Linked DNA regions of Homo sapiens: regions 1 and 3 are each linked to region 2. Evidence: promoter capture Hi-C in human tissues and cell types (Jung and others, 2019). All regions are on one chromosome and are shown on one strand. The core of a region is centred on a gene start or on the middle of the fragment in contact, and the rest is flanking DNA. Distances in the headings are between cores, read along the strand shown.

Region 1 (3,925 bases), core at 928-3,427, 820 kb after region 2:
GACTCTGTAGTCTCTTCTTGTCAGTGAGATGTTCATAGTCTTTCTTCATTGTTCACAACCTTGACAGTTTTCAGGAATGCTCAACTTATGTGGTAGAATGTCCATCAGTTGGGATTTGTCTGATGTTTTCCTAATGATTAGATTGAGGCTACAGGTTTAGGGAAAGAATATCAGAGAGATGAAGTTTCCACCTCTTCACATCAGCATGACTTCCCATTTGTGATGTTAACCTTGATCACTTAGTTAACATAGTTGTTTACCAGCTTTCTCCAATGGAAATAGTCAAGTCAGTATTTCGCTGTCTTCCAAACTCAATTTTTGGATATGACTCACTCAATCCAGCTCATACTCTCAAGGAGAAGGGAAGTAGGATCCCCCTTCTGGAGGGGGCAATATGTTATTTGGAATTCTTCTGTCAGGGAGATTTATCTCTTCTCCTCCATTTACTTATTTATACAATTTATACATAACACTGTGAACTCATGTATATTTACTCAATAATTTATCCTTAATCCAATGCTACATGTTTTATTTTGTTGCTCTAATTATTCCAGCTACGGCCACTCGGAGTTCTTTCACATTGGCTCATGTGTCCCTTTTGGCATGCTTAATCTTTATTATTTTTAAGAAATCTCTTGCCTTCTGGCACTACAAGATATTCCATGCTTATGTTGTATTTTCCCATCACCAGCCCCAGAATCAGTCATATTTAAAAGGAGTCCTGGATCCTTTTATTGGAGAATAGGATTTACAAACCAGGATGTGAGCGTTAGATGTGTTTGTGGCTACTGGGATATCACTGCTTCTAGGCCTTCTCAGTAAACACAGCTAGGAAACATATGCATGTATACTAATCCACATATACACATGCATCTATAATTATTTCTGCATCTATCCATCTGCATATATTAAGCTAAACATGAGTAAATACTTATATCTCCAACTCTAATCCAGTACCACAGGTTTCATTCTGGCTCTCCCCTCTTGTTTATTTATCTGTAACATCCCTTCCTGACAGTGAGAAACCTAGCTTCCACCATTCATCATCCATTTACTTATTTGTTCAACCCCAGGATACATGTAAAGAGGTTCAGAACTGTTCACCCATACCGTTATGAGAAACAAATTTACCAACTAGAATAGAGTGTTTCTATAGTGTTCCTTAGTCTTTAGCTTTACATTGTCCAATCAAAACACCATTTTCCAAAGTTACTTAGGTCAGCTCCTTTTCCCCCACCCATTCAGTGAAGTTATGCCATACATTTGTAATACAATTAGATTCATTTGTTACAGCTTGCATTCTATCCTGAAATCCCTAACATTTAAAAAACCTGCATACATTAAAATTAACCCTTTGTGATGTACAGTTCTTTGGGCTTTAACAAATGCATAGTATCATGTATCCACCACCACAGTACCATACAGAACAGTACATCGCCCTAAAAATTGCCTTTTGTATCCCCTTTTTAGTCAACCACTTTTCTTTCCCGTCGTTTGTAATTTCAATACCTGAAATAACTGAAAAATTAAGATGCAAAAATTAAAAATCATGAGTCTTCACAGAATAAAACCTAAAACTGTCAGAAGAGTTACTGTTTAACAGTTAAACTGTAGGGAGAGTTACTACTTAAAAGTTATTGAGTTCTAGACAGGAGAACAAACATCTAAATTCTTTAATTAACTTTTTCGTGGTATTATTCCACAACATGCAAGATTATGAGATCAACTTTTAAGTTGTTCATGGTAAACAGAGTTGGATTCCAATCCTAAGCAACTATTTTCTGCATTTATAAAATATTTTCCAGGGATAGAACCTACAAGCTTTGGTCATAAAAATATTTTGAATTTTTAATTGTTTAAAATAAAGCCAAAACTATTTATTAAAAACAAAACCACAGTGTAGTAACAAAAAATAGAAAACTACCTTACAGTCTATTCATTTTGCTACATTAATTATGTGATTATTAGATCTTAATAGATGTGCTATGATAGCTGCCCAGTTTCATAGATCTAAAGCACTCACTTTCAAGGATAGCTCTTCAAGTAGACTAACAGATAAGAGAAAAACAATAAAAATGTCCAGGTTGCTTATTTGTACTTCCTCTTTCCCCTTCCTGACCCCAACCACCAGAGTACGAAAGTTTCCATTTTATTTACAATTAATAGTGTGCTAAGTCTACAGGTATCACATATTACAGGTTGTGAGAATCATGTCCCAAAAGGCGGTATTATCTGGAGGAAGTAGTTAACTATGTAGGGCTAAGCAATATAATCTACCTACTGGCAGTATCATCATCAGTTAAGAACTTTAAGATTTTAGCTTCCTCCCCCTGGTGGCAGTGTCTGGGGTGATAACTTTTTAAAAATATTCAGATAGCATCTTAAGGTTTATAGCTGCTCTAGTCAATTATAAGTAAGTAATTTGGGGATAGAAGTAGATTTAAATGAAACAGAAGCAGATTTAAAAACTCTTCTAATGGAAGCACTTGCCTCCTATAGTTCTTTTTTTCTAAAATGCAATTACAACCATTACATCATTGTAAATTACATGCTGGGGTTATCTCAGTAGGTATCTGCCAAATGTAAAACTTACAGAAGGTCTTCAATGTAATAACGATGTTTTATCATTTTAATTACAAACTCTTTAAAAAACTCCCTAAAATGTACCAATTGGGGTGGTCTAAATTAACAGTATCTTGGTAGCCCAAGGGTAGCAAAAATAGATTGAACTACAAAATTTCATCATACTTATAGCAGCTGTCTTCCTGCCTCTAGGAAGCTAAGTATTTAACAAAGCAGACAGCTTGGCATTGGCATCTGATTAGCAGTGTGTGCATTGTCAGATAGAATGTGCTTGGCTCTTTTGTTCCAGGGTTTGATTAGAAATCTGGAGAGCAGAGGCATCATGTAACTTTATTTTTAAAGCTTCTGAAAGGTAAATAAACTGTGATGGTTCCTCTGGTATTGTACCTGAAAGACCGATTGATGCTTTTCTAGTAATATGCTTTATCACACCCTAAAAAATTTAAATAAGGGATTTTTGGGGGGGGGAAATACTTCAAAGACTGAAATAGGCCAATCTTAAAATCACTTTAAATATTGTACATACCAAAAATATTTTTGCAATAGAGTGCTTTGCATATTGAGTCTTGCACTAAAATACTGTTGTTGGGGAGGAAGAATGGTCATTTTAGAGTGTAAATACAAGACTCTATTCCTAAATATATGAATAGTCCAAATGAAGATTCAGAAATTTTTTCTAAAACCACGTGAAAAGCTTACTGGAAAAATAACACTGTCTTATAAGAATTATATTATTTTGATGGAGGTGCCAAACATTAAACTATAAAAGGGTGACTCTCATTACCTTTTCCTCACAAATTTCTTTGAAAATTTATTACAAATGATTGTGCTTACTGGCAGAGTTCACAATCAGTAGAGTCCATGCAAACAATCTACTTCAATGAGAAGTACATTCTTTTACTCTATCAAATCCATCGGAGGTAATCAGACTGGATGTTTTATTCAACAGGGCTGAAGAAAATTGTTCTACAATAGGTTAATTCAAAATGGCAGCATAGAAAATGCATCTGTCAGTGGGGATCAAATTACAGGGCAAGCTCCTCTCAATGCTTAGAAAAACAAGTCTGCAGTTCTACAGATTATGTGCCTGTGTGTGTTTAAAGGGGTGGGAAAGGAGCTAAATATCTGAGCTAACCTCCAATTAAAGTCAATCATAAAAACAGCCAATTTAATGAGTGCGGATTTCTTTGGGTAATTATAACACCAACCACTTTTTTCTCTTTTAAATCTGTAATTCTGCCTTCTTGTTATTGCTTGCTTTGTCATTAATCGCCTCAGGACCTTGATTTCCTAGCAACAGACTGCCACCAAACATTTGGCTCCTGTTCAACATTTTCTTTGT
Region 2 (3,979 bases), core at 1,034-3,533:
CTCACCCCAGAGCTCCGCCTCCTCCTTCCTCGCTTCCGCTAGGCCCAAGGTTCCTGCAGCTCAGATCAAGAAACTGCAAGTTTCTGGCCTTCATCCTCAGCCAAGCCACTCTCTCATTAACTACTCAACAAGCTGGCCTCTGGGCCTCGCTCAGGTTGAGCCCCCGCCTGGGAAGCCCCCCAGTGGAGCTCAATGCCTAGTCAGCGTTGTTAAAATGGATTCTTGGCCGGGTGCGGTGGCTCACGCCTGTAATCCCAGCACTTTGGGAGGCCGAGGCGGGCGGATCACATGGTCAGGAGTTCGAGAACAGCCTGGCCAATATGGTGAAACCCCGTCTCTACTAAAAGTACAAAAATTAGCCAGGCATGGTGGCTGGCGCTTGTAGTCCCAGCTACTCAGGAGGCTGAGGCAGGAGAATCGCTTGAACCTGGGAGGCGGAGGTTGCAGTGAGCTGAGATCGCGCCACTGGGCTCCAGCCTGGACGACAGAGCAAGACTCCATCTCAAAAAAAAAAAAAAAAAAAAAAAAAGGCTCTTACAGCCTCCACCCCAGGGGACATCTGCAGTGCAGCAGGAAGATAACCGGCTGCCCTTCGGACTTTGACTCCTTTTAAAGGTAACATGACAGCTCACTAAGTGCCAGGATTTTCTCATTTGGTCCCCTGTGTAAGTCCTCAGCCTGGATTTTCTCATTTGGTCCCCTAGGAGGTTGGGACTATTCATAACGCCATTTCACAGAGGCAGAAGTCGTGAAGCTTAGGCCACCCGCCAGCTGTGTGTGACCTGCATCTCTGAAACCAGCTTCACTAAGAATACCAACCAGAGGCCAGGCACGGGGGCTCACACCTGTAATCCCAGCACTTTGGGAGGCTGAGGCAGGAGGATCACTTAAAGCCAGGAGTTCGAGACCAGCCTGGACAACATAGTAAGACCCCTTCTCTTTAAAAAAAAAATTTTTTTTTTTAAATTAGCTGGGCACAGTGGTGACCGCCTGTGGTCCCAGCTACTTGGGAGGCTGAGGCAAGAGGATTGCTGAGCCTGGGAGCTCGATGCTGCAATAAGCAGTAATCTTGCCACTGCACTTCAGCCTTGCCAGAGACCTTGCCAAAAAAAAAAAAAAGAACACCAACGCCAGGCACAATGGCTCAGGCCTGTAATCCCAGCACTTTGGAAGGACGAGGCAAACAGATCACTTGAGGCCAGGAGTCTGACACCAGCCTGGCCAAAATAGCAAAACCCGTCTCTACAAAAAATACAAAAATTAGTTGGGTGTAGGGGTGCGTGCCTGTAGTCCCAGCTACTCCAGAGTCTGAGGCAGGAGAATCGCTTGAATCAGGAGGTGGAGGTTGCAGTGAGACCAGATTGTGCCACTGCACTCCAGCCTGGGTGACAGAGCGAGACTCAGTCTCAAAAAAAAAAAAAAAAAGGACAGCGTCAGCGTCTTTCACCTCCTCCGGAGTTTGGCGCATGGTAGGGGTTCAATCAGTGTTCTCTGGACAGTGTTTCAACAGAACAACCTTGCAAGGGAGCTTCACCGGCTTTCTCCCCAAGATGTCTTCATTCCAACCTACCAACATAACAGCAGCTGCCACTTATGTATTGTGCTACTGTGTGCGAAGCTGTGGGATCTGGTGCCTTTTATGGTAAGATTGTAGGCCTCATTTTACAGGAAGGAAACTGAGGCTCAGAGAGACTGGCAGGACCAAGATTAGACACTCGTATCCATCTGGCCCCCAAAAGCAGGATTTTAACAGCTAAGAATATGGTCTCAGTTCCACAGGCCCACCCCAGGGCTCCTGAACCCCAATTCGAGGCTGCATGCCCTCAAACCAGTTCCCTCACTCCTTCAGCCTGATGCTTTGGGGCATCTTGTCCAGGAGGCCTTCCCCCTTTAATCTCTATCTCTTGTACTTGTGACTATCTTGTAACTTACACTGGCGCCCTCCATACACAATTCACATATGCCCCCAAGGGGCCTCAGAATAAATGGTGGCGAGGAGAAAAAAGCATTGGCAGGAGGGGAATGGAGGCAGGCACCTGGACTGCGGGCACAGGCGGGAAAATTCAGATCTAGGCGCTTGGCCTGCTCCCCGCAGGGGCGCAGTTCCCGGCGCGGCCACCAGATCGCGCCCGGCTCTCTCGGGCGGGGCTTGCAGTAAGGCTGTGTGGCCGCCAGATGATGCCCGAGACCGCGGCTCCGCGGGTAGTGCCCCGACAAGGTGGAGCCCGGCGGGCCCGCGAGTCCGAGACCTGTCCCAGGAGCTCCAGCTCACGTGACCTGTCACTGCCTCCCGCCGCCTCCTGCCCGCGCCATGACCCAGCCGGTGCCCCGGCTCTCCGTGCCCGCCGCGCTGGCCCTGGGCTCAGCCGCACTGGGCGCCGCCTTCGCCACTGGCCTCTTCCTGGGTGAGCAGGACCTGGTCCCGGCGGGCGGGTGGGCGGGCGCAGAGTAGGGCGCGGCGTGGCTCAGGTTAATCCAACACCCTCTCCCCGTCAGGGAGGCGGTGCCCCCCATGGCGAGGCCGGCGAGAGCAGTGCCTGCTTCCCCCCGAGGACAGCCGCCTGTGGCAGTATCTTCTGAGCCGCTCCATGCGGGAGCACCCGGCGCTGCGAAGCCTGAGGCTGGTCAGCAGGGCGCGGGACGGAAACGGGCGTCCCTCTCGACCCCTGCGGGTCCCACGTGGCTGTGTGACCTTGGGCTGGGCCCTGGCCCTCCCTGGGCTTCCGGCTTCCCTGGGCCGGGTGCGGTGGGCGTTCCGAAGGGCCAGTCCCCCAGGCCACGCCCAGAACCGCGCCCCTGGGGCTTGGGACCCCCAGGGCGAAGGTGGGTGACCTGCATGGCTGGTGCCACCCTCTCCTTTCACGCAGCTGACCCTGGAGCAGCCGCAGGGGGATTCTATGATGACCTGCGAGCAGGCCCAGCTCTTGGCCAACCTGGCGCGGCTCATCCAGGCCAAGAAGGCGCTGGACCTGGGTAGGGGCACGCGGCCGGGATCCCGGAGGGCCGAGGTTTCCGGGCCGACCCCCACTCTGGGCTGAGCCCGTCTGTGTCCTGGTCCCAGGCACCTTCACGGGCTACTCCGCCCTGGCCCTGGCCCTGGCGCTGCCCGCGGACGGGCGCGTGGTGACCTGCGAGGTGGACGCGCAGCCCCCGGAGCTGGGACGGCCCCTGTGGAGGCAGGTGAGCGCCCGCGCCTAGCTCTGCAGCCCCAGGCGGGGGCGCAACGGCTGACCCGCTCCCTCCGCAGGCCGAGGCGGAGCACAAGATCGACCTCCGGCTGAAGCCCGCCTTGGAGACCCTGGGTGAGCACCGAAGCGGGAAGGGCTTTGAAGCCATTCATTGCAAACGAGGCTGCTGTGTGGCCGAGCTGTGACTGGGCCTGCCGGGCAGGTTAAGGGCAGGGCCGGTTGTCACAGAGCCCGGGCCGGCCTGGGAGGGGCCTCAGGGCCGCCGGGGCCGCGGACTCAGCCGCACCTGCCCTCCCTCCCCCCGCAAGACGAGCTGCTGGCGGCGGGCGAGGCCGGCACCTTCGACGTGGCCGTGGTGGATGCGGACAAGGAGAACTGCTCCGCCTACTACGAGCGCTGCCTGCAGCTGCTGCGACCCGGAGGCATCCTCGCCGTCCTCAGAGTAAGGGATCCACTGCGGGGGAGGAGAAAGCACCCTGTCGGGCCGGGTCCCCATCTTTTCCCTTGACTCCTCTTATACCCCAAAGCCCCACCCAGTCCAGTCACGTAGGCTACACCCCCTCCGGGGCTCCGGCCCCGGTACCCAGGCTTTCCTCCGCTTTGGTTCTGTCTCCAGCTCTGGTCACCTCCTGCCCGGGCACCTCCCTCCGAGGCCCCGCCTCCCGCCCAGACACCTCCCTCCGAGACCCCGCCTTCCGTCTGGGCACCTCCCTCCAAGACCCCGCCTCCCGCCCGGGCACCTCCCTCCCAGTCCCCCGCCTTCCGCCCGAGCACCTCCCTCCGAAGCCCCG
Region 3 (4,093 bases), core at 813-3,312, 930 kb after region 2:
AACAAAGCTGAATAAAAAACAAGAGCAAAGAAAGAAGTGATTCTGAATGAAAAAGGCAGGGAAAGTTTAACATCTGAATTGAAATTTGACACTTAAGGGAGAAAAAAAAAATTCAGGGTTGAGGCTAAAACAATAAACATGACGTATTCAGAAAAACCAGTTAAACACAGACTAAAATGCAGGTCAAAATCAAAGTAGTAAAAACTGACAAAGAAAAGGTAACTATCAGGCTAATAAGTGTAGACATTATTCTGAAGGCTACTAGAAATTATTAAACTCTATTTAGCAACAGTGTGAAAAGCAGACTTTTTAAAAATGATGATAACACTGGACAGAGTAAAGAGAAGCAGACCACCTGCCTTTAGAATAGCTCATACGAAAGACAGGATAGAGAGACGAGACCAAAGTAAGGAATCATTCCGAAGTTGAAGACACAGGATGTGATAAAGAAATGTAAGATGTGGAAGAGGGATGAAAATTCTGAGGTTGCTAGTTTGGATAACCAGTTGGATGGTGTTAGAAAAGAAATACAGGAGAGAAGAAAACTCATAAGAAGGAAAAGGAACTCCTAAGTAGCCAACTAACAAACCAAGAAATATTTATCTTTAGGGAACTGATTGTGCTGTGGCAAGACTAACAGGTGTTTAAGGATGAAAGAGTTTATGATATTATTACATTTTACGGGAAACTTCTATATATTTTCCTTACATGACTTTTTCCATAGGAAATAAAGTATGGGAATTTTAGTAATTTATAGATTCCTTCTTACTTTCTCCTTTTGGTTGACATTCTTTGTCTGAACGGGGTGGCCATATAAACACCTCAATCAAAAGCCTGACAGAATTGGAAGGACAGTACCTGATCCATTTTTCCACCACAAGCCTACTATATTAATTATCATTGGAAGAAATTTAATAAACTTTGTAATATTATAATTATTTATGTTACATTATTACAGGAAAAAATTACAACAAAGATGAATATAGTAATATTAAACAAATGTACAAAAATGGCATTAAAAATAACAGAAGCAAATTAAGATAAAGTTGAAAGAACACAAAATATAAGACATAAACACTTATAGTTTATGAAAGCTGAAATATAATACGGGATGTCCTTATACTAACTGTTCAACAAAATGATCAATAAATTCATTCAATATAATTATTTTGTCTTTAAAAATTAATTTACTGTCCTCCCACCTGTCTAAAACACAGGTCTAGGACCTCTGTTGGACTTTTTCTTTTCAAGAGTGATGGTGTTTGTTACTGATCTACACTTCATACACCCCTCTCCCTTTTTTCAGTCTCTTAAACCTCCCTGCTACCTCTGCTCTCCAAATGTACAGACAAAGCAGCAGAATCAATATTGGAATATGATGTTTATAACTCTGCTTATAAGAGATTTGAATTCTTACTATGTTCTGTCTCCTAGCAATTCTGAAGGTACAGCTTATTTGTGACTTTAATTGTATCTGTTGTTTTGAGGAAGATAAGAAAATTTAGATTCATTATCCTCTAAGTCCAGTTTAAATGGCTTTTGATGGTATAAGTGGCAGCCTAAAAACTAGAAGATCAACACAGTAATCAAGGATATATTAAGATCATGTAAAATAAAAATAGAAATATGTAGAATTAAACACTTTGTGGTTGGAAACTAAATGTATTACTTTTAAATAAAAGGCAACTATTGTAAGTTATATTTAGGATGCATTTAGAAAATGTATCCTGAAAAGCTAGAAAAACAATAGAAAAAGTGAAGAGAACAATAAGGAATACAAAAGCGACAGAAGAAATTTTAAAACACAAATAGCACTGTAATTTTTAATGTGTCATTTTTCTCCTTATCTAACACGAAAAAATAAAAAAGACTTCATGATTATACCCTTCAACATAGAATCATTTATTCCTATATGAATAAAAGTACTTATAAATAAGATATAACAAGAATTATGAACAGGAAAATGTCCACAAAACCAACACTTTACAATTTCCAGTTCTACCTAAGGGCAATTGCTTTCCATTTTCAAAGAAACTAAAGCCACTAACTTATTTCAAACTCAGGGGTGGGAGGGAAGGAGAGAGAGAGAGAGCGAGTGAGCATATGAGAGTGTGTGTGCGCTCAGCATATTATCAGGAGAAGAAAGAAGACCTCACGTTGTGTTAACATCAGCACAGCATAAAAACAACATTAACAATTTTTGAACATTTATAGATTGATGTATGAAGAATAGGACATGTGATTAAAATCTTTACAGTGAAATTCCAAAAATTTAACTTCCTTAAGAAAGCATTCATAACTGCCAAGTAGAATTTCTGATGAAGTTATTCCTTAAACTTCTCATCTAAACAAATAATTAAAAACATAAGTCATTCTAAACAGGTTATACTTATTAAGATCAAATGTTAATAGAATAACACAGGGGGGGAATCGACAGGCAAATTGTAAAATTCAAAGCTTTGAAATCTTTTACCACAAATGTTTAGTGAGGTTTTAAAAAACTCAAATGTCAGTTTGCTAAAAGCCAAAATAACATTTTCGACATGCGTTTATTTTTAAGCATCTTTTTAAAAGACGGAAAAAGTAACAGTTATTCAAAACTAAGGTTAAGCTATTAGTTCATAAGGATTGTAATTTAAAGACACTTCTTGAACCTCCAATTTTATTTTTTTGATAAGAAAGCAATTTTAAGCATGTATTGCTTAGATAAGCCCTTATTCAACTCTAATATGTTTAAAGGTTTAATTATTCCCATTTATAACTCTGAACATGAAGATCATTGTACCTAAGATAATCAAATATACTGCTGAAAAGCATTTTGTATATAAGTATAGATGATTAAAATAAAATGAATTATTCCTAAATTTAGATGCATGATAAGTGCATTAGGTTTCTACCCATTGTAAGAACACAACAAAATTTCACTAAACCAATTTATGATTTTCATTAAATAGTAACTGGTTGACATTTAGTTTTAAATCATAAAAAGAAAAAGTCATATGTAAGCAAAAGAAAAATACTGCAGGACAGTGGTTCTCAAAATTAGATGAGTAATCTCATGGTAAACCTAGAGCATCACCCCCAAGTCCACCGGCAGGTACTTCCAAAACACAAATTATACACTCCACCTCCCTTACTGGTTTGCTTTCAGCTTCTATTTCTACCAGAGTCCATGGTTTATAATGGGCCTGAGTTTCTCTGACCATAGAAATATTCCAGAAACATATGTAATAGATATGGAGAGAGAGTAGTTAAGCAATAACTAGCTAATTATTTCTCTCTAGCAAACTTCAAAAAATGTCACTCATCAGAAATACTCAAACACCTAAAATCTCTTATCAAAACATAATATATGGAACTTCCGATTCTGGGTAGCATATACTGCATCACAGCCAACATTCCTACTGATGACACCTAGGAAGGCCATATAAATCATAAGTCACATTGTTAATGGTACCAAAGAGCTCTGAAGCAACAAGGACAAAGTGGATAAATTTCCGGAGAGGTGAGACCTGTTCACAGGGGCAGGCCAGAACTGGCAGCTTTTTGTTCCACCTGCCAACATTTGCAGCCAGAAGCATGAAGACAGAGAAACAAAATTTGACATTTCCCAAACCTAAAACACACAGCTAGTTTGCCCCAAAACACATTTGCTGAATTCTGAAACTGAATGCTAAGTTAAAGAGGTTAACCAAAATAGTTCCAAAAGCAGAAAGTTCTCTGACTCTAGCTGTGCTTACAAAGACAGAACAAGAAAAGAGCAACTAAAAACATAATAGGCAAGAAATGAAAGCCCTAGAAGGAGTGGAGAATAAAAATAAGGATCCGTGGCACATTTCCACTGGGGTTTGGGGGGAAGGATATACTTATACTGGTTACATGTGGAACCTGAAAATTCACACTTTGTGCTTAGCAGAAGATAATGATAAGGAAGGGGGCAATAGGGGGAAAACAGTAGGGATTTTAGCAATTACATAAGGCTGAAGTAGTAACATTGGAAACTGAAAACCTAAAACAAAAGATCATTTTCCCCTTTGACATAATTGCCAAATTTTGAAGGCAGAAAGAAATTAAGCTAGAAACCTCTGCATTA

Evidence for each region. Contacts are between HindIII fragments. The study calls those that stand out against the background at their distance.
Region 1: a fragment that was not itself captured here is called in contact with the fragment with the promoter of COMTD1 in region 2 in 1 of the 25 tissues and cell types used here (H1 embryonic stem cells).
Region 3: a fragment that was not itself captured here is called in contact with the fragment with the promoter of COMTD1 in region 2 in 1 of the 25 tissues and cell types used here (mesendoderm cells).

The regions. Positions count from the first base shown.
Region 1 is chr10:74,418,449-74,422,373 of GRCh38, reverse strand. All of the region lies in intron 6 of ADK (adenosine kinase), which reads right to left. Among named protein-coding and RNA genes, the nearest start is that of ADK-AS1, 110 kb to the left of the region's middle. RefSeq lists an enhancer at 3,132-3,925. The HindIII fragment of the contact is 5,136 bases long and covers 1-3,925 here.
Region 2 is chr10:75,234,261-75,238,239 of GRCh38, reverse strand. COMTD1 (catechol-O-methyltransferase domain containing 1) reads left to right here and starts at 2,283. Exons shown (of 7, transcript NM_144589.4): 1 at 2,283-2,405; 2 at 2,497-2,624; 3 at 2,868-2,973; 4 at 3,062-3,180; 5 at 3,248-3,302; 6 at 3,497-3,630. The coding sequence starts at 2,312. RefSeq lists silencers at 2,035-2,329, 2,365-2,504, 2,665-2,744, 2,875-3,164, 3,325-3,554 and 1 more. The HindIII fragment of the contact is 14,083 bases long and covers 1-3,979 here.
Region 3 is chr10:74,306,860-74,310,952 of GRCh38, reverse strand. The region is part of intron 3 of ADK (adenosine kinase); the gene reads right to left. Among named protein-coding and RNA genes, the nearest start is that of ADK, 160 kb to the right of the region's middle. The HindIII fragment of the contact is 5,647 bases long and covers 1-4,093 here.